Regions from separate parts of the Homo sapiens genome. Here regions 1, 2, 4, 5 and 6 are each linked to region 3. The links are contacts of gene promoters, found by promoter capture Hi-C in blood cells and fetal thymus (Javierre and others, 2016). All regions are on one chromosome and are shown on one strand. The core of a region is centred on a gene start or on the middle of the fragment in contact, and the rest is flanking DNA. Distances in the headings are between cores, read along the strand shown.

The links. The method cuts DNA at HindIII sites, captures the fragments that hold promoters and counts their contacts. A CHiCAGO score of 5 or more calls a contact.
Region 1: a contact is called between a fragment that was not itself captured here and the fragment with the promoter of MRPL14 in region 3, in 6 of 17 cell types (naive CD8 T cells, erythroblasts, naive CD4 T cells and 3 more). The highest score is 8.1, in naive CD8 T cells.
Region 2: a contact is called between a fragment that was not itself captured here and the fragment with the promoter of MRPL14 in region 3, in 2 of 17 cell types (monocytes and non-activated CD4 T cells). The highest score is 5.4, in monocytes.
Region 4: a contact is called between a fragment that was not itself captured here and the fragment with the promoter of MRPL14 in region 3, in 1 of 17 cell types (monocytes). The highest score is 5.6, in monocytes.
Region 5: a fragment that was not itself captured here is called in contact with the fragment with the promoter of MRPL14 in region 3 in 2 of 17 cell types (monocytes and neutrophils); the score reaches 6.1 in monocytes.
Region 6: a contact is called between a fragment that was not itself captured here and the fragment with the promoter of MRPL14 in region 3, in 4 of 17 cell types (neutrophils, monocytes, activated CD4 T cells and 1 more). The highest score is 5.5, in neutrophils.

The regions. Positions count from the first base shown.
Region 1 is chr6:43,716,334-43,721,135 of GRCh38, forward strand. No RefSeq gene overlaps it. Among named protein-coding and RNA genes, the nearest start is that of MRPS18A, 31 kb to the left of the region's middle. The HindIII fragment of the contact is 3,480 bases long and covers 200-3,679 here.
Region 2 is chr6:43,651,529-43,656,219 of GRCh38, forward strand. It overlaps RSPH9 (radial spoke head component 9), which reads left to right. Exons shown (of 5, transcript NM_152732.5): 3 at 4,034-4,163. Among named protein-coding and RNA genes, the nearest start is that of RSPH9, 8.8 kb to the left of the region's middle. The HindIII fragment of the contact is 2,172 bases long and covers 411-2,582 here.
Region 3 is chr6:44,125,298-44,130,031 of GRCh38, forward strand. It overlaps MRPL14 (mitochondrial ribosomal protein L14), which reads right to left and starts at 2,155. Exons shown (of 3, transcript NM_032111.4): 1 at 2,047-2,155. TMEM63B (transmembrane protein 63B) reads left to right here and starts at 2,257. Exons shown (of 24, transcript NM_018426.3): 1 at 2,257-2,381. RefSeq lists silencers at 1,888-1,947, 1,978-2,027, 2,048-2,447, 2,488-2,597, 2,778-2,937. The HindIII fragment of the contact is 11,989 bases long and covers 1-3,186 here.
Region 4 is chr6:43,815,042-43,819,293 of GRCh38, forward strand. The region is part of intron 1 of LOC105375070 (a long non-coding RNA gene); the gene reads left to right. Among named protein-coding and RNA genes, the nearest start is that of LINC02537, 35 kb to the right of the region's middle. RefSeq lists enhancers at 2,063-2,112, 2,233-2,292. The HindIII fragment of the contact is 1,289 bases long and covers 1,204-2,492 here.
Region 5 is chr6:43,749,514-43,754,136 of GRCh38, forward strand. No RefSeq gene overlaps it. Among named protein-coding and RNA genes, the nearest start is that of VEGFA, 18 kb to the right of the region's middle. The HindIII fragment of the contact is 5,224 bases long and covers 1-4,173 here.
Region 6 is chr6:43,700,138-43,704,699 of GRCh38, forward strand. No RefSeq gene overlaps it. Among named protein-coding and RNA genes, the nearest start is that of MRPS18A, 15 kb to the left of the region's middle. RefSeq lists an enhancer at 2,767-3,752 and a silencer at 2,855-2,954. The HindIII fragment of the contact is 6,909 bases long and covers 1-4,562 here.

The DNA.
Region 1 (4,802 bases), core at 690-3,189, 410 kb before region 3:
AAGCCTAGAATCCCCCTTTCTCACCGCCAAGTGAAGGGGGAATCTGTGCACATGCACATAGGCATGCACGCATGGCACTGGGGAGCCCAGGCGCAGGGCCACGGGACCTGGGACATGCAGGGGCAGAGGGGTGGGGGTCTGGAAGCAGGCTTGGGCAGGGACCATGGCTGTGCCAGGTAATAGGGAGTCTGGGGAATTAAGCTTGGCTCACTCTGAGGTTGGGGAATGTAGTGGATTGAATAGAGACCCCCAAAGTTTATGCCCACCTGGAACCTGAGCATGGGACCTTATTTGGAGATAGGATCTTTGCAGAGGTAATGAAGGTGAGGATTGAGATGCGATCACGCTGGATTAGTGTGGGCCCCAAATCCAGTGAAAGCGTCCTCCTAAGAAACAAGTAAAAACACTGAGAGACGTGGTGGGGACAGCCGTGTGAAGACGCATGTGAAGGTGGTGTCAGAGACTGGAGCCCACAGCCAAGGAATGCTTTGAGCCACCAGAAGCTGGACAGGAACTTGGCCCTGCTGGCATCTCAATTTCAGACTTCTGGCCTCCAGAACTGTGAGAAAATAAATTTCTGTTGTTCTAAGCCACCAAGTTTGTGGTCATTTGTTTCGGCAGCTCTAGAAAATGAAGACAGGGAGGCATATGGAGGAGGGTTGGGGTGGGGGGAGTGGGTAGGTGGAGGCTTCATAAGAAAGCCTTGGAAAACAGGATACAAAATATTGACCATTTATCTTGCCACTATTCTGTGCCAGGCACTTTTAAAGATATTTATCTCTATCCTCACAATGACCCTGCCACAGAGAATTATGGTTTCCATTTTACAGTGAGGTTCAGACCCAAGTGAACTCCATTTAGTTAGGATTCCAACCCAGGATCCTCTGTCTCCCAAGCCTGGCCTCTGTCCACCTTCTTTCAAGGGTGGCCCCAGTAGATTCCAGGGCAGATGACACTTGCTTTCAAGTTGGAGGGGTCTCCAGGAGTCTGAGAGGGGAACATAATGATGCTCTACTGGGAAACAGGGGAAGAGGCCATTACTGCTCTGGGGGCCTGCTGTGCTGGATGCCCTAGAAAATCTCGACTCACCACGATGTTCCTGTAGGCCTCAGTGACATGGCCAACGGTTTCTTCATGGTCCTGTACCCTACAGAGGGAGGCATCCCTACTCACCTCATTCCCACTATGACAATCACATCACTCCCTCCACCACCATCGCTGTCTCCATCATTGCCACCTCCATCACCACCGCCATCACCTTCACCATCATCCCCTTCACTGTTACCATCACCACCCTGAAACTGCTATAATGGCTGTCACGACCAGTACTTCTGTGTCCATGTCACCATCTCCATCACAACCCCTCTACCCCCACTACCATCACTGCAAAATGGTGGAGAGGTGAGAGGCCGGTAAGTCACTCAGGGAAGGACAGGACAGCCGAGCAGGATTTAGCAGGGGAGGAGGAGGAGGTGGGATGTGTCTGGCTGACAGACAGGGTCCATAGTGAAGGACTGCCCTAGGTTCAGCCTTGTTGAGAGGGAGGTGAGTCTGCCTGGCTGGAGTAAACACTTGGTAGGACAGGCTGTCTTCGCGGGCGTTGGTTTGGGTGGGTGGAGGCTATTCTAGCAACACATCCTGCCCCTGCCTGGCTCACGATGGTCTCTGGGGGATGTGGATTTTGGCGGGTCCCTGGCTCGTGGCCACCTGCCTGGCCTGGCCTGGCCGTAGCAGTGAGGTCATGAGAGTGGCTGTACTGGGAGTACTGGGGAGTGGGGTGGAAAGGAGGGGCGCGCCCTGGCTGGGAGAGGAAGGCCTCTCTCCCCTGGCTGACTCTACCCATAACGATCATAACGATGAAGTAAGCACGAGCCTGGACACTCCATCTCCCCAGACTGCCCTCCCTCCGGCCTGCCCAGCTTGCCCCGGGCCTGGGTTCTGGGCGCTGCAGGCTCTCTCTGCCAAGGGCTCTGGGTTTCCCATTCCCTGGTGACATCTTGATAGTTGGATCAGCCACCTGAGGGAATACAGGGGCCAGAGGCTCTGATCTGGGTGTAGGGAGAGAATTGACTGTGGAGAAGGGCGTACTATTTCTCCACACTTCCTCCTTGTTAGACTCAATATGCCTGTGTGTGGTGTAGGGAGATGGTGGCAGAATGTTCCAGAGACTCGGGCCCCAGCCGCTCCCCTCACCTCTTCCCTGCACACCTGGCCACCTCCACTGCCTTTAGAGACTGGGGACCGGCCAGCTCTGGGAACAGCCTCTCTCAACCCTTCCAAGCCCTGAAACTGCCCAAATGCCCAGCTAATCCCACCCTCTAAGATCTCACTTGAGAGCTGTGGGAAATGGGAAACAATACTATCGTGGGATGTGTTTATCTCTGCATCAGGCGTGAGAGCCCGGCAGACAGGCTGGCGACTGGAGGGGCCAAGCGGCCACTGAGTCCCTGAGACAGGAGATCGGAGGGTGGAGTCAGTGAGAGCACTGGGGAAGGGCCCCGGCTTCCACCCACATCCTGGGAAATGGCTGTGGCTGAGCCACCTCTCACTACAATCATTCCTGGGGGAAGGCCTTTTGCTGGCTTAGGAAAGACTTTGGACTTCGACAGGACACGGAGACCTTTTGAGGACCATAAGATAGTGACAGCTAGTGTTCACTGAGCATTTACTGCATATGGAGCCCTGTCCAGGCACTTTATATGTGTCCACTCATTTAGTCCTCCCAATATCACTATGAGGTTATTACAATTACTGTTATATGTATTTCACAGTTAAGGAAACGGAGGCGCAGACAGCTAAAGACATTTGCTGAAGGTTAGAATGATGGAAGGTGGAGCTAGAATTTGTGTCCAGCTCTTCTGGCTTCAGAGCTCATGCTCTTTACTCTGGGGTGGAGTGGGGTGGATTTTTTGAGTTCCCACTCCAAACCTACCCACCCCTTCTTCTCCAGGGTCCCTACCTGGTATGGCAAACAGCACAGAAATGGGAGCCAGGAGCCTTGGGTCCTTGTGCCTCTAACCTTGCTCTGTGGCTGAGGGCAAATTCTTGCTCTCTCCAGCCTCAGTTTCCCCATCTGCCCACTGTGCCAGCATTGGACTCATCCAGGGATCCCTGAAAGCCCTCCCGGCCTGATATCTGGAGCTGAACTACCCCAGCTTGGAGCTGTTCCTGTTTGTGGGGCCAGCCTGGGCCCTGGGAATGGTGGGGAGATGGGAGTTGGAGGGTGGAACCCAATGGCCTGGAGGACCCCTGGGTGTCCGGACAGCTCTCACATGGCCCCATGGCAGCCACCTCTTTGACTGTGCTCCATCAAGAGGAGCGGCAGGAGCACAGATCAGAGACAATAGCCAAACATGCTCACCCACCCACAGATCCCTGCCTGGCAGTGGGGCGGGGAGAGGGTCTGCCGGGATCCAGTTCCCACCAACCCCGGACTCCTCCGGCATCTCCTGACTGGGCCCCTCCCCGCACAAGTGGTGATAGGAGTAGGCAGATCCTTACCCTCCTTTCAGAGCACCCAGTGGGCAGCAAGCATCTCTGATTATCCTCCTCACCCCATGCAGCCCTTTCTTCCTCTCCTAGCCATACCTTAGATGGCCTTGCTTTTTATCCAGCCACATTTTCTGAGCCTACTATGTGCCAGGCACTGTGCCAGGTGTAGGAAGACAGGGATGGAAAAAGCTTGATTCCTGCCCTCAGGTGCTCACAGCCTAGTGGGAATTAACCCTAACCCATCCCACATTCCCTGCCCTCCACGCTTCACCACTTGGAGGATCATCAAAGGCAGAGCGCAGAGGGCAGGGGAGGGATTCTTCAGGGCCCAAAGGCCAGGGAAGTTCTGGGGGCACCAGAGCAGGCAGCAAGAGTGGGAGCTGGAGCCAGCAGGCCCTGGGAGGAGTGCGCCTGGTCCTGAGATCCTTTTTGATGATGACTACCTAGGCTGCTTGAGTGGAAAGAGGATGGGGTACTATCTTTCCCCTTGCTGGAGGTGACTTCAAGCAGGACAATAGCCTGTTTGCTGAGCTGGAACCCTAGAGTCTGTTAAGGCCAACTTGAGTTTGGTAATAGATGATCCCAGAATTTTAAGAAAAAGAGGAGCACAGAGCCACAGAGCTGAGATGAAGGTAGCGGAGGACAAATTTCCATGTGGGGAGTGAGGCTCACTTACAGAAGCTGGTGAGTCTGAGGTGGTAGGTCTGGTTGGGTTCATGTCTTACGAAAAGTGACTGTAGTAACTTGACCTGTGAAATGGGGGATAATCTCATCTAAAATATTAAGTTCATCCATTCATTCACCAACAAGGTTTATTGAATGACTGCCATATTCCAGACACTGGGACTTCAGCAGTAAAAAGGCAGCCTCAGTTCCTGCCCTCTTGGAAATTGTGTTCCATTGGAGAGAAAGATAATAAACCTATTTTTATATGAAAAATGATTTCAGGCTGGGCGCGGTGGCTCACGCCTGTAATCTCAGCACTTTGGGAGGCTGAGGCAGGCGGATCACGAAGTCAGGAGTTCGAGACCAGGCTGGCCAACATGGTGAAACCCCATCTCTACTAAAAATGCAAAAAATTAGCCAGGTGTGGTGGCGTGTGCCTGTAGTCCCAGCTACTAGGGAGGCTGAGGCAGGAGAATCATTTGAACCCAGGAGGCAGAGGTTGCAGTGAGCCAAGATCGCGCCATTGCACTCCAGCCTGTGTGACAGAGCAAAACTCTGTCTCAGAAAAAAAAAAAAAAAAAGATTTCAATACAAATCTGAGAAGCGGTGAAGGGAAGCACAGGATAAGTTTCTATGCTATGACA
Region 2 (4,691 bases), core at 247-2,746, 470 kb before region 3:
ATTAACTCTCTCTCTCTTTCTTTCTTTTTCTTTTTTTTGAGACGGAGTCTTGCTTTGTTGCTCAGGCTGAAGTGCAGTGGCGCCATCTCAGCTCACTGCAACCTCCGCCTCCTGGGTTCAAGCAATTCTCCTGCCTCAGCCTCCCGAGTAGCTGGGATTACAGGTGCCTGATGCCACACCCAGCTAATTTTTGTATTTTTAATAGTGACGGGGTTTTACCATGTTGGCCAGGCTGGTCTCGAACTCCTGACCTCAGGTGATCCGACCGCCTCAGTCTCCCAAAGTATTGGGATTACAGGCGTGAGCCACCGCACACAGTCTGACGTTAACTATTTTGCATGTGCATGTGTGTGTACATATGTGTACTTGTGTGTCTAAATTTTTCTGCTCCAAGTAGAGTCTGGATCAGAAGCTTCACCATGTCCTAAGAGTTAGAAATGTAGGATCTTGGGCCCCAGCATCAGGTATCTGCCTTCTAAAAAATCCCCTGGGCATTGGCCAGGCACGGTGGCTCATGCCTGTAATCCCAGCACTTTGGGAGGCTGAGGCGGGTGGATCACGACGTCAGGAGATTGAGACCATCCTGGCTAACACGGTGAAACCCTGTATCTACTAAAAATACAAAAAATTAGCCGGGTGTGGTGGTGGGCACCTGTAGTCCCAGCTACTCGGGAGGCTGAGGCAGGAGAATGGCATGAACCCGGGAGGCAGAGCTTGCAGTGAGCTGAGATCGGGCCACTGCACTCCAGCCTGGGCGACAGAGTGAGACTCTGTCTCAAAAAAAAAAAAGAAAAAAAAATGGCAGCATGTTATACACATGATTCTGAACCTTGCTTTTTTTCACCTAATGATATATTTTGGAGATCTTTCTATATCAGTGTCTTAAAGAGCCTTCCCATTCTTTTTTTTTTTTTTGAGATGGAGTCTCGCTGTCACACCCAGGCTGGAGTACAGTAGTATGATCTTGGTTCACTGCAACCTCTGCCTCCCGGGTTCAAGTGATTCTCCTGCCTCAGTCTCCCAAGTAGCTGGGATTACAGGCACCTGGCACCACGCCTGGCTAATTTTTATATTTTTAGTAGAGACGGGGTTTCACCATATTGGCCAGGCTGGTCTCCAACTCCTGACCTCGGGTGATCCGCCCGCCTCGGCCTCCCAAAGTGCTGGGATTACAGGCGTGAGCCACCATGCCCAACTTCCGGTTTTTTTTTTTTTTTTTCACCATTGTGGGAATGTACCATAATTTTCCCAGTGTCTTATTTATGAAAATGTAGGTTTCGAAGTTTTATTTTATTTTTATTTGTTTTTGAGACAGAGTCTTGCTCTGTCACCCAGGTTGGGGTGCAGTGGCACGATCTTGGCTCACTGCAGCCTCCATTCCCTGGGCTCAAGTGATCCTCCAGCCTCAGCCTCTCAAGTAGCTGGGACTACAGGTGCATACCACCATACCTGGCTAATTTTTGTATTTTTTTGTAGAGATGGGGTCTTGCTATGTTGCCCAGGCTGGTCTTAACTCCTAGTTTCAAGCAATCCTCCCACCTCAGCCTCCCAAAGTGCTGGGATTTATAGGCATGAGCCATTTCATCCAGCTGATTTCCAAGTTTTAGTTCTAACAAACAGTACCATAATAAATGACCATATAGCTGGGCATGGTGGCTCACGCCTGTAATCCCAGAACTTTGGGAGCCCAAGGCGGGCAGATCACGAGGTCAGGAGTTTGAGACCAGCATGGCCAACATAGTGAAACTCCGTCTCTACTAAAAATACAAAAAATTAGCCAGGCACAGTGGCGCCTGTAATCCCAGCTACTCGGGAGGCTGAGGCAGGAGAATGGCTTGAATCCGGGAGGCGGAGGTTGCAGTGAGCCAAGATCGCGTCATTGCACTCCAGCCTGGGTGACAGAGCAAGACTCCGTCTCAAAAAAAAAAAAAAAAAAAGACCATATAGACATCACTTCCATTGTGTGTAATTCCTGGGAAAGTCAATTCCTGGAAATAGACTTGCTAAGTTAACAAGTAAGGAGCCTATGTTTTGAAACAATACAATCCCAGAATTCAAAGCACAGCTGTTGCACTTGAACCTGGGTGATGCCGAAAGTCTGAGTCTAGGTCTGTGAGCCCTCAGCTGCATCCTCACCCACTCCTACCTGATTGACTTAATCTTCCTGAGCCTGTTTTTTTTGAGACGGAGTTTTGCTTTTGTTGCCCAGGCCAGAGTGCAATGGCGTGGTCTCGGCTCACTGCAACCTCCGCCTCCCGGATTCAAGTGATTCTCCTGCCTCAACCTCCTGAGTAACTGGGATTACAGGCATGCGCCACCACACCCTGCTAATTTTGTATTTTTGGTAGAGACAGGGTTTCTCCATGTTGGTCAGGTTGGTCTCAAACTCCCGACCTCAGGTGATCTGCCCACCTCAGCCTCCCAAAGTGCTAGGATTACAGGCGTGAGCCACCGGGCCCAGCCGTGAGCCTCAGTTTTATTATTATTTTTCTGTAAAATTGAGATAATTGTATTTACTTTGCAGGCTTGTGTGGATTAAATGAGGTGACATATTTAAAGACACTGGCCTCAGCACTTATTAAAGCTTAGTTTCTACCTTTCTTTTGTAAACCATTCAGGTAGGCTGCCCATGGCAAATAGGTGGCTCCGTGACTCTCTAGGGGCCTCTGTTGACACGCATTCTCTGTCGAGCTCTTCCACAAAATCTCTATGAAATCCTTTTGTTCAGAGTTGCCCTAGATAGTAATTGTAACTAAATTTCATCTGTGTAAAAAGGGTATGATATGGGGAAATGCTTGCAAAATAATGTTAAACTGAAGAGAAGGATATGAAACAATATAAACTGTGACTCTAATTTTGCTTTAAATATATGCATAGAGGGCTGGGTGCTGTGGCTCACCCTGTAATCCTAGCACTTTGAAGGCTGAGGCAGGGAGACTGCTTGAGCCCGGGAGTTGGAGATCAGCCTGGGCAACATGGAGAAACCCCATCTCTACCAAAAATACAAAAATTGACTGGGCGCAGTGGCTCACGCCTATAATCCCAGCAGTCTGGGAGGCCAAGGTGGGTGGATCACCTGAGGTCAGGAGTTCAAGACCAGCCTGGCCAACATGGTGAAACTCTGTCTCTACTAAAAATACAAAAATTAGCTGGGTGCAGTGATGCACGCCTGTAGTCCCAGCTACTCAGGAGGCTGAGGCAGGAGAATCTCTTGAACCTAGGAGGTAGGGATTGCAGTGAGCTGAGATCCCTGCACTGTACTCCAGCCTGGGCGACAGAGCAGGACTCTGTCTCAGAAATAAATAAATAAAAATAATAATAAAAAAAGACAAAAATTAGCTAGATGTGGTGACATGTGCTTGTACTTCCAGCTACTCAGGAGGCTGAGGTGGGAGGATCATCTGAGCCTGGGAAGTTGAGGCTGCAGTGAGCCATGATTGTGCCACTGCCCTCCAGCCTGGATGATAGAGTGAGACCCTGTCTCAAAACAAAAACAAAATGACAGCAACAATAACAACAAAACATGAAGAAAGTATACCAATATGTTATCAGTGATTATCTTTAGGAGGTAGGATTATGAGTGGTTTTAGTTATCTTTGGTATGTCTTTCTATATTATCCAAATATTCTACAGTGAGCATGATTACTTTTATATTTTAAAAAGGCAAAATAAGCAACAGTTAAATATGCTGATAGGATGGTATGCCTCTGGAAGAGTACATGAGAAACCTTCAATGGTGGCTGCCCCCAGTGAGGGCAACTAGGGTCTCGGACTGGGGTGAGAGAAAGACTGATTTTTTCCTGTAGTTTTGAATATCATACCACCCTTATGTATTACGAATTAAAAAACAAATAAAAAGAAAGGAAGAAAATCTTGATAGGAAGGAAGGCGAGGGCCTGCCCAGCGTGATCTGTGTGGCTCTGGGGTCCACTACACTGCAGTGGTGCGGGTGAGATGGCCGTGCAGAGGGACCTTGCGCCGGGGTGCCTGGGCACAGTGCCCTGGCAGGGGGGCTCCTCTCCTGTCTCCTCAGGTCCAGATCAAGGAAGAGACCCGCTTGGTGTCTGTCATTGACCAGATTGACAAGGCTGTGGCCATCATCCCCCGAGGCGCCCTCTTCAAGACCCCTTTTGGACCCACCCATGTCAATCGGACCTTTGAAGGTGAGTTCTCTGGGGCCCCTCTCAAGGGCTGGGGGTATCTTTTCCCAAGCACAGTAGAACATATGTCTGGGAGTCCAGCAGGGGGGCTTACACACTTTATCAGAGAAGGAGTAGCTGTGACCTTATCACCTGGGAGGGTGTGCCCAGTGACCTGGCACCAGTGGTCGGTATGGGCTCCCCATCTCCTGGCCCCTGACTCTCTTCAGTTTGAGGAGTGGGAGAGCATATAGTCCCTTGGTCCCAGGGCTTTACATGGGTCTGGGCTACCTGCCTTTTCCTATCTCCTTCCTCCTTGGACTTCCTTCCTTCCTTCCTTCCTTCCTTCCTTCCTTCCTTCCTTCCTTCCCCTTCTTTCCCTTCTTTCCCTTCTTTCCCTCCTTCCCTCCCTCCCTCCCTCCCTTTGTTTCTTTCTTGATGGTGTTTTGCTCTTGTCATCCAGGCTGGAGTGCAGTGGCACAATCTTGGCTCACTGCAACCCCTGCCTCCTGGGTTCAAGCGATTCTCCTGCCTCAGCCTCCCGAGTAGCTG
Region 3 (4,734 bases), core at 905-3,404:
TAGTTCAGGAATCCACATGCTCAGATTCATAACTATACTTTTTGTAAAAAATAAAAACATATAAAAAATGCCTTCTGGCTGGACAAGGTGGCTCACGCCTGTAATCCCAGCACTTTGAGAGGCTGAGTTGCGTAGATCGATTGAGGTCAGGGGCTGGAGACCAGCCTGGGCAACATGGTGAAACCCTATCTCTACTAAAAATACAAAAATTAGCCAGGAGTGGTGGCTCGCGCCTGCAGTCCCAGCTACTCGGGAGGCTGAGGCATAAGAATTGCTAGATCCCAGGAGAAGCTGCAGTGAGCTGAGATCGCACTGCTGCACCCAGATCTCCCCAGCCTGGGCAAGAGAGACTGTCTCAAAAAAAAAAAAAAAAAAAAAAAAAAAGGCCTTCTAGTGATCCTCAGAAATCCAAAAACCAGACAACTATGGCTTCCACTTCCATTTTTCAGATATCCATTATAATACTATTTGACCTCAAAGTGAATTTTATTGTTCCACACAAGCAACAGATTACACCAATTTCACAACTCCCAGAATCCAAACCTACAAAGACCCTTCCCACCAAGCACTTTACCAAAAACGGGCTTCATCTCCATCTTCCTTTCTTTCACAGTTGAAAAACTGCCCTTCCTAATTAAGCCAACCAACTTCTTACCTCAATAAAATCCTTGTTTTTCAGTAGCACGTACAGTATTTCCAGTGATGAACAGTGAACTGTCTTTCGTCTCACACAGTAACCTCCGTGAAGAAGATCCACCTTGTTCTTTACTGTATATTCCTGGCATGCTAACTGCATCCTCAGACAATTTTAAGTGACTGAAAACTCAGGCAAAGAAAGGCAAGAGGGCAAATAGAAGGGCACAGGAGACAACGCTTTTCAAATTTTTCTCACTGCGACCTACAGAAACACACTGTAGAACACCTCCTAGTACACTCACACGTGTGTGTACACCTGAAGTGTCAAGAAACAATACCCTAAGTGCAACACCCTCTGATATTTTCTATTTCAAGTGGCCGTGATCTACTAAACTGATTTCCAACTCACCAATAGGATTCAGTTTGAAAAACACTGCAATAAATCAAACCTTACAGTTGCATTCCACAAGCTACTAATGAACTCTTGAAAATCCAGCATACAGCAGAGACGCTGACCAACTACAAGATCCAAACCCCCCAGGTGGGCAGTGTCCTTCTGTTCAGCAGTGGCAGTTCCCCACCACCACCAGCCCTGAGAGTTAATTATCTCCCAAACTCCCAGAGTTTCCCAAGTAGCCTGAGGTGTCTGTCATATGCCCTTTTAACCTCTTTATAAATTCAGTCCCGTCCGTCTCTTACGGTGGCAAAGTTCATTTATCGTCGGCTGTGGAAAGCAATACTTCCTTTTTGTCCCCTCCAGGAACCAGAAATTAAATGACCAGGTTGGTGCCCGTTGTGCCTTTATGATCTATTTGTGTGGGTGATATATAGAAAGAGTCTCAGTCTCTCCCTTCATCTTTCCAGTCTTAATCACTGGTAGATGCAGTCTCTGGTGAAATAAGAAACCAGGGAACCCCCTGGCCTGGGGGAGGGCGCACTCATCAGCGTTGACAGAGTGAAAGCAAAAACTCAATCCTCACACCACAGAGGCGTCTGGCTAACTCATCTCCAGACCTAAGTTGGGAAAGGGGAGGGGAGCGCGGAAAGCGGAGAAGCCGGAGGAGACGCTCCGGAGTGACCAGCGACGGCTGAACGCAGCCCGCCCTCCCCAAGTCGACGCCGCAACCCGGGGAAAGCAGGTGAGCGCCGGCCACGGACTTGGGGGTCGCAGAAGCAGCCCACGGAGAGCGGAAGGGAGGAGGATCCGGGTAAGGGGCCTCCCCTCCCCGTCGGGACCCCCCTCCCCGTCGGGACCCCCCCCTCCCCGTCGGGACCCCTCCCACTGACGCTCTGCCTCCCACTCTGGCCTCTCCTCACTCACCCCGGGGAGTGGGCCTCCCCTACTGCAGAGAAAGGAAGAGGAGAAGGAGGGAATGAGGACTTAACGCCCACCCCTGCCCCCCACCATACCGCTCTCGCCGCCCGGGAAAATCCCGCCGCGGGCCCCACCAGCCAAGCGCCGCCTTCGCCCCACGCGGCCTCTTCCTAGCGCCTGCGCGCCAGGCCCAGCCCGGCGGACGCGATCTGAGAGTGCGCGCGCACCTTGCGTGCGCCGGCGTGCGGGGCGGGACCTGCGGGGCTCCGCCCCCTCCCCCTCCCTCCCCCCGCTCCCCCTCCCCCATACACTGCCGCGGCCGCCGCAGGAGCCCGGAGCTCGAGCCGCCCAGCGACTCCCCCTCCCCCTCCCCCAGCCCCGCCCCGCCCCAACCCGGGGCTCCGAGCCGGAGCCGAGTCTGCGCCTGGGGGTGAGTACGCGACCCCTACCCAGCCCTCGCTCTTTTCTTCGAAGATCCCACCACCACCCAAAGAAAAAACCTGGACTCAGCTGCGCGTCCCCTCCCTTCAACCTCCTGCGGGACCCAGAGGTGCCCGGGCCCGCGGGACCCAGGGGTGGCGCGCGCTGCCCCCAACCCCGCACCATCCCGAGCCAAATGTGAGTCCTCCAACCCCTGCCGGAGGTCCAGATACGCGCCGCCGGCTCTCCCCAGCCCCGGGGAGATCCCAAAGGGTGGGACCCCCGCCCCCGGCCCCCGAGTGCCACTCTTCTCCCACCTGCCCGGTGCAGGTGCGCGTCCCCTGCGCGACCCTCGGGGGTGCCAGCTGCGCCCCGCCTGTCCGCCGCCGTTTGGGGAACTAGCCGCCCCCGCCCCCGAGTTTTGGACCCCGGGGTCGCCAAGTCCGATGCCTTCTGTGCCTTTTATTTTTTCTGCTGCTCCCGGGGGCGAGTACACCCGAAGCCGGTCCGGGGTAAGGGCTCGGGCTCGGGCAAGGGCAGGGTTCGCAGGTGCTGGCACGAGGCCGGCCGCTGCCCCCGGCTCTGGGGACTGACTGGTCGGCGGGCTGGAGAGGCGGCCGGCCCCGGGAGCGTGTCCTCTCCTTGCGCCCCACACAGTGCAGTTCATTCATGAGCCGCCCGGGCCTGCGTTGGAGGGTGCGGTGGGGAAAAGATTCAGACGCGAAACCGAGAGTGGGGCAAAGGCCCTGTTGTGGGGAGGGGGCGCCGCTTTGTCCCTCCTGGCTGTCTTGACCGCCTAAGGCGGACAGTCCCAAAGCTTGGCACCTTGTTCCCCAGAAAAGGAAAGGACGCTTGGGAAGTGGGGAGGAGAGGTCAGAGGGGCTGGCTGCCCTTGGGGCGCTGTGCTGCCCCCTGCCTGGGTCCCCTGGGCAGAGGTCTGGCCGCTCGGGGCAAGCCTGAGCACTCCACCGCCCTGGGGGGCTGGGGCTTGCCTACCCATTACCAGTCTGCAGCAGCCGGGGAGCAATGAGGCTGTGCCCAACACCTGCTGAAGAGGGGCCCATCCTGCCTCCCAGGCCAGGGTGAGGTGGGGAGTGGGAGTGTCAGCCAGGCTTCAAGTGGGGGTGTGCTGGCAGCGTGATTGTCCTCCAGGGCACCAGAGGGTCCAGGCCTTGGCATGCCCCAGGTGGCACATGCTGGGGCCTGCTGTTGGCTCACTCAGTGCAGTCTTGGCCTGTGGGTGGATGGGGACATGGCAAGGCAGAAGGCAGGCAGTGGGTAACTAAGAACCCCCTTGGACATCATTCAAGTTCTCTCCAAGTATAGCAGAGTCTTAGAGACCTGCGTTCAAATTCTAGCTCTACTATTCTTCAGCTGTGTGACCTTGACAAGTTACTTAACCTGTCTGAACCTCAGTTTTCATTAAAAAGTGTTTATGCCTATAATTCCAGCACTTTGGGAGACTGAGGCGGACAGATCACTTGAGGTCAGGAGTTCGAGACCAGCCTGGCCAACATGGTGAAACCCCATCGCTACTAAAAATACAAAAATTAGCCGGGCATGGTGGCACACACCTGTAATCCCAGCTACTCAGGAGGCTGAGGCAGGAGAATGGCTTAAACCTGGGAGGCGGAGGTTGCAGTGAGCCGAGATTGTGGCACTTCACTCCAGCCTGGGTGACAGAGCAAGACTGTCTCAAAAAAAAAAAAAAAAAGAAAGAAAAGAAAAAGAAAAAAAGTGTGGTTACTACCACCTCCTTACAAGTTTTATCATGGGAATCAAACAAGGTAACAGAAGTAAAGAGCTTGGCATCCTTCCTGGTAATTGATCAATAATGGGTTATCATCTCTGAACTTCTGACCCATAACTCTCCCATGCCTCCACCTCCCAGGCTACCACAGATGGATGGGGTATGTTCAAAGAGTGAGAATATTCCCTGTCACTCAGTGGCAGAGTCCCTAACACAGTGTAAACCCTTAGGTCTAAATAAGAAGCCCAACCTGACTGAGGGGCTCTGTTATATTTCTATCATGTTACATTCTGTGTTTTTATCTTATTTTTGTTTTTACCAATTTTCTTTCTCTAAACCAACCCCTTTTATTCCATACCTTATTAATAACAATAACTAATTCCTAGAGCCCATTATATGCCTTGAACTATATTAAGAGCTTTACATAAGTCATCTTGTTTAATCCCCAGAACAACAACACAACTGGATTATTGTCCCATTTTACAAATGAAGAAACTGAGGCCCAGGGTGACTAAGTAATTTTCCCAGGTTAGAAGCCTGGTCTGTCACATCCTAGAGTCTGTGCTTTTAACCACCAGACTATGGTGCCTGTCCCCTATGCCTGCCTCAGAAC
Region 4 (4,252 bases), core at 598-3,097, 310 kb before region 3:
CTTTGTTAATCAGGTGTCTGTACTTGCCTAGGCCTGGGGCCTGTTCTGAAAGCCAACTTTTTGGCTTCAAGGAAGTTCTATTCCTAAAGAGAGTGAAGGTGAGGTTCTCTGGAACAGCAGAAATCTGGATCCAGATATCAGGGCTAACAGGGTGTGTCCTGTCCTCCAGCCATGGAGGCAGCAGGAGGAGGTGGATGGCGCCTTCTCGATGACCACTTGGCCCAAGGCAACACAGCGGGTGGGGACCTCACCTGTGAGGACTTGCTAGGGCAGAGCATCTGGACTGTTCTCAACTGGCTCTGGGGACCATTTAATCTTTCAGAGGGTGGGGGAAGTGAATGGAAGAAGGAGGGATTGGTTGGAAAAGCTTCAGTGACAGGGCAAACCTGGGCTAAAGGCAACCAGCTGGTCTTGATGGAGTGCACCTGTAGTCCCAGCTACTCAGGAGGCTGAGGTGAGAGAACCACTTAAACCCAGGAGTTCAAGTCCAGCCTGGGCAACATAGTGCAACCCTGTCTCTAAAAAAAAAAAATTTAAAAATTAAAAAAAATTTAAAGTGGACCTGTTCTGTTATTTGTAATCGAGAGGGAAGGGAAGTCATCAGTTTAATTCCTTCGAACCATAATTTATTGAGTCATTGTGTTAGGCTCTGGGAATACTAAGAAAAATAAGACACCATTCCTGCCCTCAAGGAGTCTAGTCATGGAGGCAGATACCAAGATTGTTTTTATGACAGCCCACATCAGTTGGGAATATATTTGGTATCAAGCAACAGAATACCCAACAGACAGTGGCTTGAGCAATAAAGACATTGATCAATATCACATCACTGGAAGTCTGGAGGCAGAGGGTTCCAGCTTTGGTGAAAGGATGACATCAATGATGCTATCAAAACTCAGCCTTTTTCTATCCTTCTGCTCTGCCATCTTCAACGTGTTAATTTTTGTCTCCATGCTTGTTGCCTCCTGGTCACAAGATGGCTGCTATGGTGACTCCTATAATTATATTCAAGGCAGAAAAGAAAAAAGCCAAGGAGAGAAAGGGGCTCTATTTTTATCAGGGAAGAAACGTGTTTCCCAGATACCCCCTCTGAAAATGACCTCTCATGTATCATTGGGCACAACTGAGAGGAAATGCTTCAGGGAGGCTGGGAAACTGAGGGACTAGCAAATAGGAACAGGATGCTGGTGATGTCTTAGATGAAGCTTGACTCATCTTCTGGGCCTAGATACATTGTCACCCGAAAAGGTGAGGTTCTGGTGGCAAGGAAGAAAGGGTGGAGCAGAATCACTGTTAGGTAGGATGAGCAGTGCCTGCCTTGTGTGGTAAGAGCTAGGATAGGCTCAGGATGCAAAGAGAAACCAGAGGAGCAGAGTTGGCCTAACTTGGGGGCTCAGGGAAGGGTTCCTGGAAAAGGTGGCTCCTGAGTGAGTTTTAGAGCAGCTGTATCAAGAACAGTTGCAACGTCATCCTAGGTAGATTGACAGCAGGAGCAGAAGCAGAAATAGACATGTGAAATAACCTAGTATGTCCAGGAAAGTGAGCACAATTAGATATTTAGTTAAGTGATGGGGAGAGAGAGAGACAGAGAGAGAGAGAGAGGAGGTGCAGGTGGAGAGGGGAAGAAACCAGGCCACGGTGGGCTTTGAAAGTCATGCTGTCAACCTTGTCTAACCAATTTATCCTGGCTTCTGCCAGTGCAGGGGCAGGGCTGGCTGTGCAATTTAGAAATATTACTCAATGCTGGTACAGAGATTGGGTGGGTGGGAGAGGCCGTGAGAAGCTCAGAGTGCAGCAGGGAGACCAGCAAGGAGGTTCTTGCAGCCATCCAGATGAGAGCTGTGGAGGGCCTGGAACAGACTTGGGCCTGGAACAGACTTTCCAAAGTCAGACTGCCAATATTTCAGCAAAAAGACAGGCAGGGTTCCATGCCACGAATCTCTGGGTGGGATAGCTGTCTCAAGAGGGCTGGGAAGCTCTCAAAAATGTACATGACACTGTGCAATCCCACACAGGGTAGTCTGCGTCCCAGTAATGAAGGAAGAAGGGAGGTGACCACAGAAATCAGTGTGTGGCAGGAGAGCTCTTTGCCAAATTGCTGTGTTAAGGAGGCTTGAACAGAGAAGGGAAGGACAGATGTGAGACAGGACTACGGGCCTGTAAAGAGAGTTTCTGGAAGATAAAAATAGGTAGAGGTTTGTGAAAGATGCTAGGGGCAACCCAGGCTTGTTTAGCTGTGATCATAGCCAGTCAAGATCAAGGGATCCAGAGGCTGCAGTTGGGCCTGATGACACAGCACGGGTGGGGAGTGTACGAAGAGTAGGGCTCCTTGCTGCCCCCTGGCAGGAGAGCAGCCTGCAAACCCAGAGGGCAGCAGTAGATGACACAGAGGCCCAGGGAGCCCTGGAGGTGGGATGGGCCCTCCCCTCTCCACTGCTGCTGGGGTGTTCAAAGGGCCTCTCCCCATAAAACAACACTTGGGGCACAAAGGAAGCTTGTGAACCAGACTGCTGGGGCCACTTTGTCCCACCTGAGAAAGCCAAGAGCACGGGGGCCTTGAGAAGGGAAAAACGTGGTTCTGAGTTTTAAAAAGAGTCCTGGGCAAGGATCCTTGTGGATTATGGAAGGAGTAGTTAGTGAGCATTAGAAAAGTGGGAAGCTTCTGGATAGCTGGAAACATGGCCGTTCCTGGAGGGCGGTGCGCCCAGGGAGGGCATGGAAGCTCCACGTCCTTCCTGCATACCTTGTCTTACGCATCTGTTCATTGTATCCTTGGTACCCCATGTCTGAAGGACATAAAATGATCTTGACACCTGAAACATCCATGCTGTCCCGGGTGATGTCAGAAAAACACTCTAATGAGGACAGCAGTGCCCAGGAGGGTTCCATAATAAAATGGAAATGGCTTATACAGAATCATGCAACCTGAGGAATGTAAGGAGGAGATATGAGCAGGGAGCCTCATTACACCCTAGGACTGACTGTGGAACTGTGTGAGGAGCTGTGGATCCTACAGTGCTCTCAACTGACCAGCAAATAGCTGCTTGGTTTGTGGATGGCAGTTCCAAGGTAAATGGACAACCTCCTGTTTGGAAGGCTGCTACTATGATCCAAGAAGGTAAAAACTAATCAGCTTGGTGGGCTGAATCACATGCTGCTTTCCTAACAGCGATGGAAGAATTGAACGATGCCAGAAGCCCCTGTGGTTGGGTTTTTACCGACTCATGGGCATTGGCCAATGGCCTGGCCAGATGGTTAGGCAGAAGGGCAATAGAAACCTGGCTTATTGAAGAAATGCCCTTACGGGGCATGGCCCTGTGGAAATCTGAGGGGTGCCTTAAAGTAGAACATGTCAACGCCCACTAAGAAAGCCCCTCTCCATGTTTGCAAGGTGACTGGAATTGACAAGCAGATATCTCTGTTTCTTTGAGGTGTTCACCTGGGTCCTTGAAATGAGCAGAGATGGGGGTGCAGAGAAGGGCTGGATCTAGACATGTTCCTTTTGTACCCTCTCCGGCACAAACTGCTAATAAGACTGTTCTGTTTGTCAGCAAGAGAGCCAGAGACTGCCAATGGCTATGTGGCCATTTCCCTGGTGGGAAGGCCCTAAAGAAAGCTGGCAAGTGAGTGGTACCCTGAGGGGCTACAAGTGGGTCTTGACAGAAATAGACACTGGCTCTGGAGTGGACTTTGCTTACCTGGTGGAAGATGAAAATTTTTAGAGTGCCATAAAAAAAAAAAAAAAAAACCAGAACAGAAAATATCGCATGGATTTGGATGGCCAACCATCCTTTTTTCAGACCAAGGAACACAGTGTACAGCCCATAATATCCAGCAATGAGCAGATAGCTATCCTCCTCAGAGTAAGAGTTTGATAGAGAAGTGGAATGGGCAATTAAAACATCAGTTGCTGGCCGGGAGCAGTGGCTCACACCTGTAATTCCAGCACTTTGGGAGGCTGATGCGGGTGGATCACTTAGGTCAGGAGCTCGAGACCAGCCTGACCAACATGGCGAAACACCGTCTCTACAAAAAATACAAAAATACAAAAAATAAAAAAATTAGCTGGGCATAGTGGCACACACCTATAATCCCAGCTACTCCAGGGGCTGAGGCAGGAGGCAGGAGAATGCTTGAACTCAGGAGGCGGAGATTGCAGTGGGCCGAGATTGCACCACTGCACTCCAGCCTGGGTGACAGAGTGAGACTTTGTCTCAAAAATAAATAAATGAAATAAAAATAAAAATTGGTT
Region 5 (4,623 bases), core at 312-2,811, 380 kb before region 3:
CATGAGCCACCAGGCCTGGCCATGGATAATCTCATTTTTAGAGTCACCTATGCCATGGAACAACCTAACTGCGGGGGTGAAACCTATCATATTCACAGTCCTGGGATTATGTATAGGGGCAAACCAAGGAGCAGGGGATTTTGGTGGGTCATCTTAGAATTCTCCCTACCACACTTAGAATTAAATATGAAGTTTTTACAGTGGCCTATAAGGCTTTACATGTTTTGGCCCCTAGCTACCTCTCTCCTTTGCCGTTTAGACATTCTTACTTTTCCTCAAAAAGACAAGCATGTTCTGGTTTCAGGGAATTTGCCCTTGCTTCTGTCTCAGCCTGGAATGCCCTTTCCCTAGATATTTCCAGGCGTTCCCCCTCATTTCCTTCAGATCTCTACTCAGAATGAGCCCTTTGTTGACCTCATCTAAAATAGAAACAGCCCCTTCCCCCAAAACCTGCTCAGTCTCTATCCCCTCACCTTGCTTTATTTGTCTGCATAGCATTTATCAACACTATTTTTAAAAAATAAATTTATTTATTAAATTACATAGTCAGTGCCGGGCATGGTGGCTCATGCCTGTAATCCCAGCACTTTGGGAGGCTCAGGAGGGCAGATCACTTGAGGTCAGGAGTTCAAGACCAGCCTGGCCAACATGGTGAAATACCATCTCTACTAAAAATACAAAAATTAGCCAGGCGTGGTGGCGTGTGCCTGTAGTCCCAGCTCCTCTGGAGGCTGAGACAGGAGAATCACTTGAACCCGGGAGGCAGAGGTTACAGTAAGCCAAGATCACGCCACTGCACTCCAGCCTGGGTGACAGAGTGAGACTCCGTCTCAAACCAATCAACAAACAACAACAACAAATTACATAGTCCATTTGTGTGTGTGTGTATGTGAGTGGTTATTTCTTTATTGAGATGGAGTCTTGCTCTGTCACCCAGGCTGGAGTGCAGTAGCATGATCTTGGCTCACTGCAATCTCCGTCTCCCAGGTTCAAGCAATCCTCTTGCCTCAGCCTCCCCAGTAGCTGGGACTATAGGCGTGCACCACCACGCCTGGCTAATTTTTGTACTTTTAGTAGAGACGGGGTTTCACCATGTTGGCCAGGCTGGTCTTGAATTCCTGGCCTCAAGTGATCCACCTGCCTCGGCCTCCCAAAATGTTGGAATTACAGGGATGAGCCACCACGCCTGGCCTACATAATTAATTTGAACTTATGATATATTTATCTGTTTGTTGTGCATCTCCAATTAGAATATAAGGTCAGTGAGGGCATGACCTTTGTTTTATTCACTATCTCTGGTGCCTAGAATAGTGCCTAGCACATAGTAGGTGCTCGATAAATATTTGATGAATAAATGATTGGATGTGTTTTCAGACTGAGAAATTTTGAAATGAAAAGTTTATTTTAGAGCACAAATCAGATGAAAAATTATTTCTGTACTTTTTGTTTTATAGTTTAACATTTTTAATGAATTTAAAAACCTTTGACTAGAGCAAGTTAAACACAAAGTAAGGAGAAGACATTAGATAATAAAGATCAGAGAAAAATGTAGCTAGGTGCGGCGGCTCACGCCTGTAATCCCAGCACTTGGGGAGGCCGAGGCAGGTGGATCACTTGAGGTCAGGAATTCGAGATCAGCCTGGCCAACATGGCAAAACCCTAACTCTACTAAAAAATACAAAAATTAACTCAGCGTGGTGGCAAGTGCCTGTAATCCCACCTACTCGGGAGGCTGAGGCATGAGAATTGCTTGAACCTGGGAGGTGGAGGTTGTGGTGAGCCGAGATTGCACCACTGCGCTCTAGCCTGGGTGATAGAGCGAGACTCTGTCTAAAAAAAGAAAAATATCAGAGAATAATGAAGTTGAAAATAGAAGAACATTGAGACAATCAATAAAACCAAAAGCTGTTATTTCAAGAAAATCAATAATATTGATAAACCTCTAGCCAGATTGATCGGGAAAAAAAGAGAAGACACAAATTACCAGTATCAGGAATGAAAGCTGTGATTGACTACAGACTGTATAGATAGTAAAAAGATAAGAAGGTAATATTATGAAAAATTTTACTCCAATAAATTCCATAACTTAGATGAAATGAACTAATTCTGTCAAAGACACATACTATGGTAGCTTACTCAAGAAGAAACAGAGGCAGGGCGTGATGGCTCATGCCTGTAATCCCAGCACTTTGGGAGGCCAAGGTGGGCGGATCACCTGAGGTCAGGAGTTGGAGACCAGCCTGGCCACCATAGTGAAACCCCATCTCTACTAAAAATACAGAAATACAAAAATTAGCCAGGTGTGGTGGCGCACGCCTGTAATGCCAGCTACTTGAGAGGCTGAGGCATGAGAATCGCTTGAACCTGGGAGGTGGAGGTTGCAGTGAGCTGAGATTGTGCCACTCCACTCCATTCAGGTTATCTAGAAGAAACAGATAACTTGAATGGACTTATATGTAATTTTTTAAAGACTGAATTTGCAGTTGAAAGCCTCTCCACAAAGAAAATCCAGGCCCAGATGGCTTTACTGATGTATACTACCAAACATTTAAGGAAGAAATAATAATAATTCTATACAAACTTTTCTAGAATATTCAGGAGGCAGAAATACCTCCCAACTCATCAGATAAGGCTAAAACCAAACAAAGATACTACAAGAACAGAAAACTACTGGCCAATATCTCTCATGAGTATAGATGAAAAATTTCTACACCAAATTCATGTAAATATAATTGAACTCTATCACCTATACACATACTATATATACATATTCATGCACTGCATAATGATTTTTTGGTCAATGATGGACCTTATGTATGATGATGATTCTATAAGATTATAATACTGTATTTTTACTGCAACTTTTCAATGTTTAGATACATGAATACTTACCATTGTGTTACTATTGCTTACAGTATTTAGTAGAGTAACATGCTATACAGGTTTGTAGCTTAGAAGTAATAGGCTATACTACATAGCCTAGGTATGTAGTATGCTGTATCATCTATATGTGTATTAGTATATATATATGTACTAGTGTATATACATGTACACTAATAACATCATGACCAAGTAGAGCTTATCCTAGGAATTCAAGGTTAGTTTAGCATTCAACAATTCAATGTAATTCATTATATTAACAAATTAAAAAGAAAAACCCATACAATCATCTCAATAGATGTAGAAAATACATTTGACAAAACACAACATGCATTTCTGATTTTTAAAACTTAAGCAAACTAAGAATATAAAGGAACTTCCACAACCTGATAATAAGCCTCTACCAAAAAAAAAAAAAACTATAATGGTGAAAAGATAGAATATTTTCTCCTGAATGTGCTTGATCTCATCTGATCTGATCTTGTAAAGCTAAGCAGGGTGGGCCTAGTTAGTGCTTGGATGGGAGACCACCTTGGAATACTGGGTGCTGTAGGCTTTTGGCCTTTGGCTCCCTTCCTAAAAAAAAAAAAAAAAGAATAGAACAAGGATGTCCACTCTTATTGCTTTTATTCAACATTGTACCAGAGGCTCTAACCACTGTAATGTAATAAGGCAAGAAAAATACAAGGCATTCAGATAGGACACGAAGAAGTAAAATTTTCATTATTTGCAGATGACATGATCAACCCTATAGAAGGTCTGATGGAATCTACAAGGAAGCTACTAGAACTAATAAATGAATTTAGTATGGTAGTGAGACACAAAAGTGGTATACAAAAATCAATTATATTCCTAAATATGAGCAATGAACCATTGGAACTTGAAATTTAAAAATAATACTTAAAAATATTATCTGTTGCACTGGGCTCTCAAGGATTCCTCAGTTATGGGAAATTTTCTTAGATTATGTCACTAAGGATGTCTTTCCCTTAGTTTCTCTGTTTCTCCTGTTATTTAGATGTTGTTGTCTCTGCTGGAGTGGTCCTGTAGTTTTATTGCTTAGTTACTTGTAACTTTCCATCCTTTTGTTATTTTCTCTCTACTTTGTGGACATTTCCTCAGCTTTATCTTCCAAATTTCCACTAAATTTTTTATTTCTGCTATCACATTTGATTTTTTAAGACCTGTCTCTTATTCTGTTTTTTTAAAAAACACTGTTCTGTTTTTGTTTCATCTCTGCAATATTTTTTCTTATCATTCACAGGATATGATAATAATGTGTTGTTATTTTTAAGCTTTCTTCACGCTATGTAGACTCAGCTTCCTTCAAGTCACTTTTTTATTTGTTTTGGCCTCTGTCTTTTGTGTTAGAAGCTTTCCTCAAATGTCTCATAATTCTCAGTTGTTTGCTTATTTTTAGGTGTGGAGATTTGTAAAGCTAGTTGGAAGCTGTGTAGGTGTGTGACTATGTATGTGTAGGTATGTGTGTATATGTGAGTATGTATACGAGTGCATGCATGTGGGTGTGTAGGTGTGTGTGCATATGTGAGTGTGTATGTGTGTGTCTGTGTGTGCATGTGTGTGTGTATATGTGACTGTGTATGCTAGTGTATGTATGTGGGTGTGTAGGTGTGTGTGCGTATGTGTGTATGTGTGTGTGCATGTGTGTGTAGGTGTGTGTATATGTGATTGTGTATGTGAGTATATGTATGTATGTGTGTAGATGTGTGTGCATATGTGAGT
Region 6 (4,562 bases), core at 340-2,839, 430 kb before region 3:
GGAGGCCTGAAGCCAGGGCCATATGTCCACTCTTTTCTAGGAGTACAGAGTCACTCAGGGCAACTGGATTGCTAATTTTGTCTTTTATTTATTTTATTTCTTTCTCCAACTTAAAAATTGTGGCAAAATATGCATAAATTTTACCACCTTAACTTTTTTTTTTTGAGATGGAGTTTCACTCTTGTTGCCTAGGCTGGAGTGCAATGGCACAATCTTGGCTCACTGCAACCTCCGTCTCCCGGGTTCAAGCGATTCTCCTAACTCAGCCTCCCAAGTAGCTGGGATTACAGGCATGCACCACCACGCCTGGCTGATTTTTTGTATTTTTAGTAGAGATGGGGTTTCTCTATGGTGGTCAGGCTGGCCTTGCACTCCCAACATCAGGTGATCTGCCTGCCTTGGCCTCCCAAAGTGCTAGGATTACAGGCATGAGCCACCGCGCCCAGCCCATCTTAACCATTTTTAAATGTATAGCTCTAGTAGTATTAAATACATTCATATGGCTGGGCGCCGTGGCTCACGCCTGTAATCCCAGCACTTTGGGAGGCCAAGGTGGGTGGATCACCTGAGGTCAGGAGTTCCAGACCAGCCTGACCAACATGGTGAAATCCTGTCTCCACTAAAAATACAAAAAATTGGCTGGGTGCAGTAGCTCATGCCTTTAATTCCAGCACTTAGAGAGGCCGAGGCGGGAGGATCGCAAGGTCAAGAGATCGAGACCATCCTGGCCAACACGGTGAAACTGCGTCTCTACTAAAAATACAAAAATTAGCTGGGCGTGGTGGCACGTGCCTGTAATCCCAACTACTCAGGAGGCTGAGGCGGGAGAATTGCTTGAACCCAGGAGGCAGAGGTTGCAGTTAGCCAAGATCGTGCCACTGCACTCCAGCCTGGCAACAGAGCAAGAATCCATCTAAAAAAAAAAAAAATTAGCCGGGCGTGGTGGCGGGTGCCTGTAATCCCAGCTACTCAGGAGGCTGAGGCAGGAGAATTGCTTGAACTGGGAGGCAGAGGTTGCAGCGAGCCGAGATTGCGCCACTGCACTTCAGCCTCGGTGACACAGTGAGACTTCATCTCAAAAAAACAAACAAAACAAAACAAAACAAAAAAAATTCATATTGTTAGGCAACCATCCCCACCTTCTATCTCCAGAATTCTGTTCATCTTATAAAACTGAAACTCTGCATTAATTTACACAAATTCCCCATTCCCTCTTCTTCCCCTTTCCCTGGCACCACGCTTTCACTTTGTCTCTGGATTTGATGACTCTAGGTGCCTCATATAAGGGGAATCACTCAGTATTTGTCTCTTTGTGACTGGTTTATTTCACTTAGCATGATGTCCTCAGGTTCATCCATATTGCAGCAAGTGTCAGAATTCCCTTCCTTTTTTTTTTTTTGTTCTGAGGCAGGGTCTCACTTTGTCCCCCAGGCTGGGTGGAGTGCAGTGACATGATCTTGCTCACTGTAGCCTCCACCTCCCGGTTTCAAGTGATCCCCCTGCCTCAGCCCCCCAAGTAGCTGGGACTACAGACATGTGCCACCATGTCCGTTACTTTTTGTATTTTTTTGTAGAGATGGGGTTTCACCATGTTGCCCAGCCTGGTCTCAAATTCCTGAGCTCAAGTGATCCACCCACCTTGGCCTCCCAAAATGCTGGGATTACAGGTGTGAGCCACTGCGCCTGGCCATTCCCTTCCTTTTTAAGGTTATATTCCATTGCATGTACGAACCACATTTTGCTTATGTGCACTTGGGTTGCTTCTGCCTTTTAGCTGTTGTGAATAAGCTGCTATGAACATAGGTGTACAAACCGGCTTTCATTTTTTTATTATTAAAGCCTATTTTTTATTGATTGCTTATTATGTGCTCAGGACTGTGTAGACTTAATCATTTAATTGTCACAAGTACCTCCTAGGTGGCAACTATTCTCTCCATTTTATGAATGAAGAAATTGAGGCTCTGACAAGCCAAGTAATTTGTCCGAGGTGACGAAAGGGGAGAGCCAGAATGAGCACCTGCTCCTGTTCTTTAACCACCATTTTACTGAATTGTGTTGATGATGGACATGAAGATGAGGTCTTGGGGTATATTGCCTGCAACACCTCCCTCCCCTCTCCAACAGAAAGGGCAGACTCTTCCCCTGACCATCTGCCCAGTGAGATTGGGAGTGAATCCATCCTGCCTGGATGATTCCATCAGCAAGGGCTCTCATTCCTGGCTGCTCATCAGCATCAACCAGGGAATTAAAAGATGATGGCCTGGCCTCTCCCCGGAGTTAAACAGAACAGTTGAATTGAACTCTCTCAGGGCTGGAGCCCAGGCAGCAGCGTTTTTTAAAGGCTCCTTAAATGGTTCTATGTGCAGCCAGGGTTGAGAACCACTGGGCTAGAGGAGAGCGGAGGAAGACTACAGGAGAACTGGTTCCCTGTCCAGCCTCTTTGACTTTCCTTGTGAACTGCTCCACCGCTTTCCCAAGAGTGGCATTTGGCTATGAATGCCCTGAATCCCGTGACTCAGAACCCCTGGAGTGCCTCCCTTCTTTTCCTCCAGAGGTTCTGTTTGGGGTGTGTGAATGTGTGTGTTTGTGTGTGTGTGTGTGTGTGTGTGTGTTTGTGTGTGTGTCCCCTGTGTGACATAGGGCCCGGATGGACCTATCTGGACCAGCCAGACCCTAGAATGAAAACAAGTTGCTGACAGCCCTCAGGCCGCCAGAAATGAATTTCCGTCACCTCCCAATGAGGGGTGAGGGAACTGAGGGGGAGGGCCGGGGTCAGTGCGTCATCAGAGGGTGGGGAGAGGAGGAGGGGAGTACACAGGCCCCACAGGGCGGGGTCAGGGAAATTAGCCTCTGGGCCTGCCCCGGCTCTTTTGCCTGTGACTGTGGCACAACTCCCGTGGTGTTTTGCCCCAAGCCCCACCCATCCTGAGTCTCCCTGAGCTCTGTCTAAATCCAGGGTGGTGTCCAAGCCTGGAGAATTTCCAGGTTGGGCTCTGCCCTAAGGCATCCAGCCTGTGGAGCTGCTTGAATGGGGGCACGTTGGGATGAGGGGGATCAGTTAGCCTGTCCTGGGGATCTTCCTCCAAGCCAGCCTTGAGCCAAGACCTGTAAGATCCATGTGGGCCTAGCAGCCTGCCAGCTCAGTGCCTACAGCAACATGGAGGAAGGGGCTGGGGGTGCAGAAGAAGACCTACCTTGGGCACTGGAGGACAGAGGTTCAGCCACTGCCCTCCTGTGTGCCCCTGTGCAATCACTTCTCTCTGCGCCGTGACATCTCCATGTGCGTTAATTATAAAGGATTAAAGGATTTGGCCCAGATCCCTAGTTCCCAAATTCAGTTGCGCTTTGGAATCTTTCGGGGAGCTTTAAAAACTACCATTGACAATTTCATCCTCCAGAGATGCTGATTTAATTGGTGTAGTTTGTGGCCTGAGCATCAGGAGTTTTAGAAGATCCCCGAGTGAGTCTAATTTAAAGCCACGTTCTAGAAAACTACTTCCTAGCCACAGATACATCATGGCACCCATAGAACATGACAGTATTTGAACAACACACTGTTTCTTAGTCGCTCTGTGCCTCAGTTTCCTCATCTGTACAATGGGGATAATAATGGAACTTGCTTGGTAGGGTTGTTGTGAAGATTATATGAGCTAATGCAGAAAGGCATTGAGAAGAGCACCTGGCAAGTAGTAAAATGCTCAATAAATGTGAGCTGTTTTTATTAATTACCCTCTGGCTCTGCTCCAGATCTGGCCCAACTTCCACCCTCTGTCTTATCTCTCCATGTTCACACACCTCACCAAAGCGACTCAACCTGGTAAACATTTACTAGGGGTCCTCTGTGTGAACCATGCTGTGCCAGGCATTGAAGAAGGGATGTGGTGCATTTGGAATCACCTATGAAGCCGGGGACCCAGAGATGCATAAAACAGGTTTTTGCTCTCAAGACCCACAATCCAGGCCGGAAGAGGCAAGCATGGAAACAGACCTGGCAGAAACACTTCAGGGCTGTTTAATACAGAGGATACTGTCACTCTTTCTGCTTTCTAGGGACATGGCATGGTTCCTCTTGGGGAAATGATTCTTTTGTGGGGAAATCACAGCAATGGGCCCTTTGTGCGAAAAAGGCATGGCTTGACTATGTGAAGATGAAGTCAAGACAGTGATAATTTTGCATAAGATTTGAGGAAGCTGGCATCTATCTCTGAGACAACTGGCCAGAGAGGAGTGGAGATGGGGCCCTCGGAAGAGGGCCAGTGGGTGAGGACTACCATCAAATAAATCTCCAGGCAGAATTAAGCCTCATCTTGATTTTTAAAAAGCATTTTTGTTTGTAGTGGTATATTTTCATATTTTAATTTTTTTTTTTTTTGAGATGGAGTCTCACTCTGTTGCCCAGGCTGGAGTGCAGTGGCATGATCTCGGCTCACTCCAACCTCTGCCTCCCGGGTTCAAGCGATTCTCCTGCTTCAGCCTCCTGAGTAGCTGGGATTACAGGCACGCACCACCACGCCCGGCTAATTTTTGTGTTTTTAGTAGAGGCAGGGTTTCACTATGTTGGT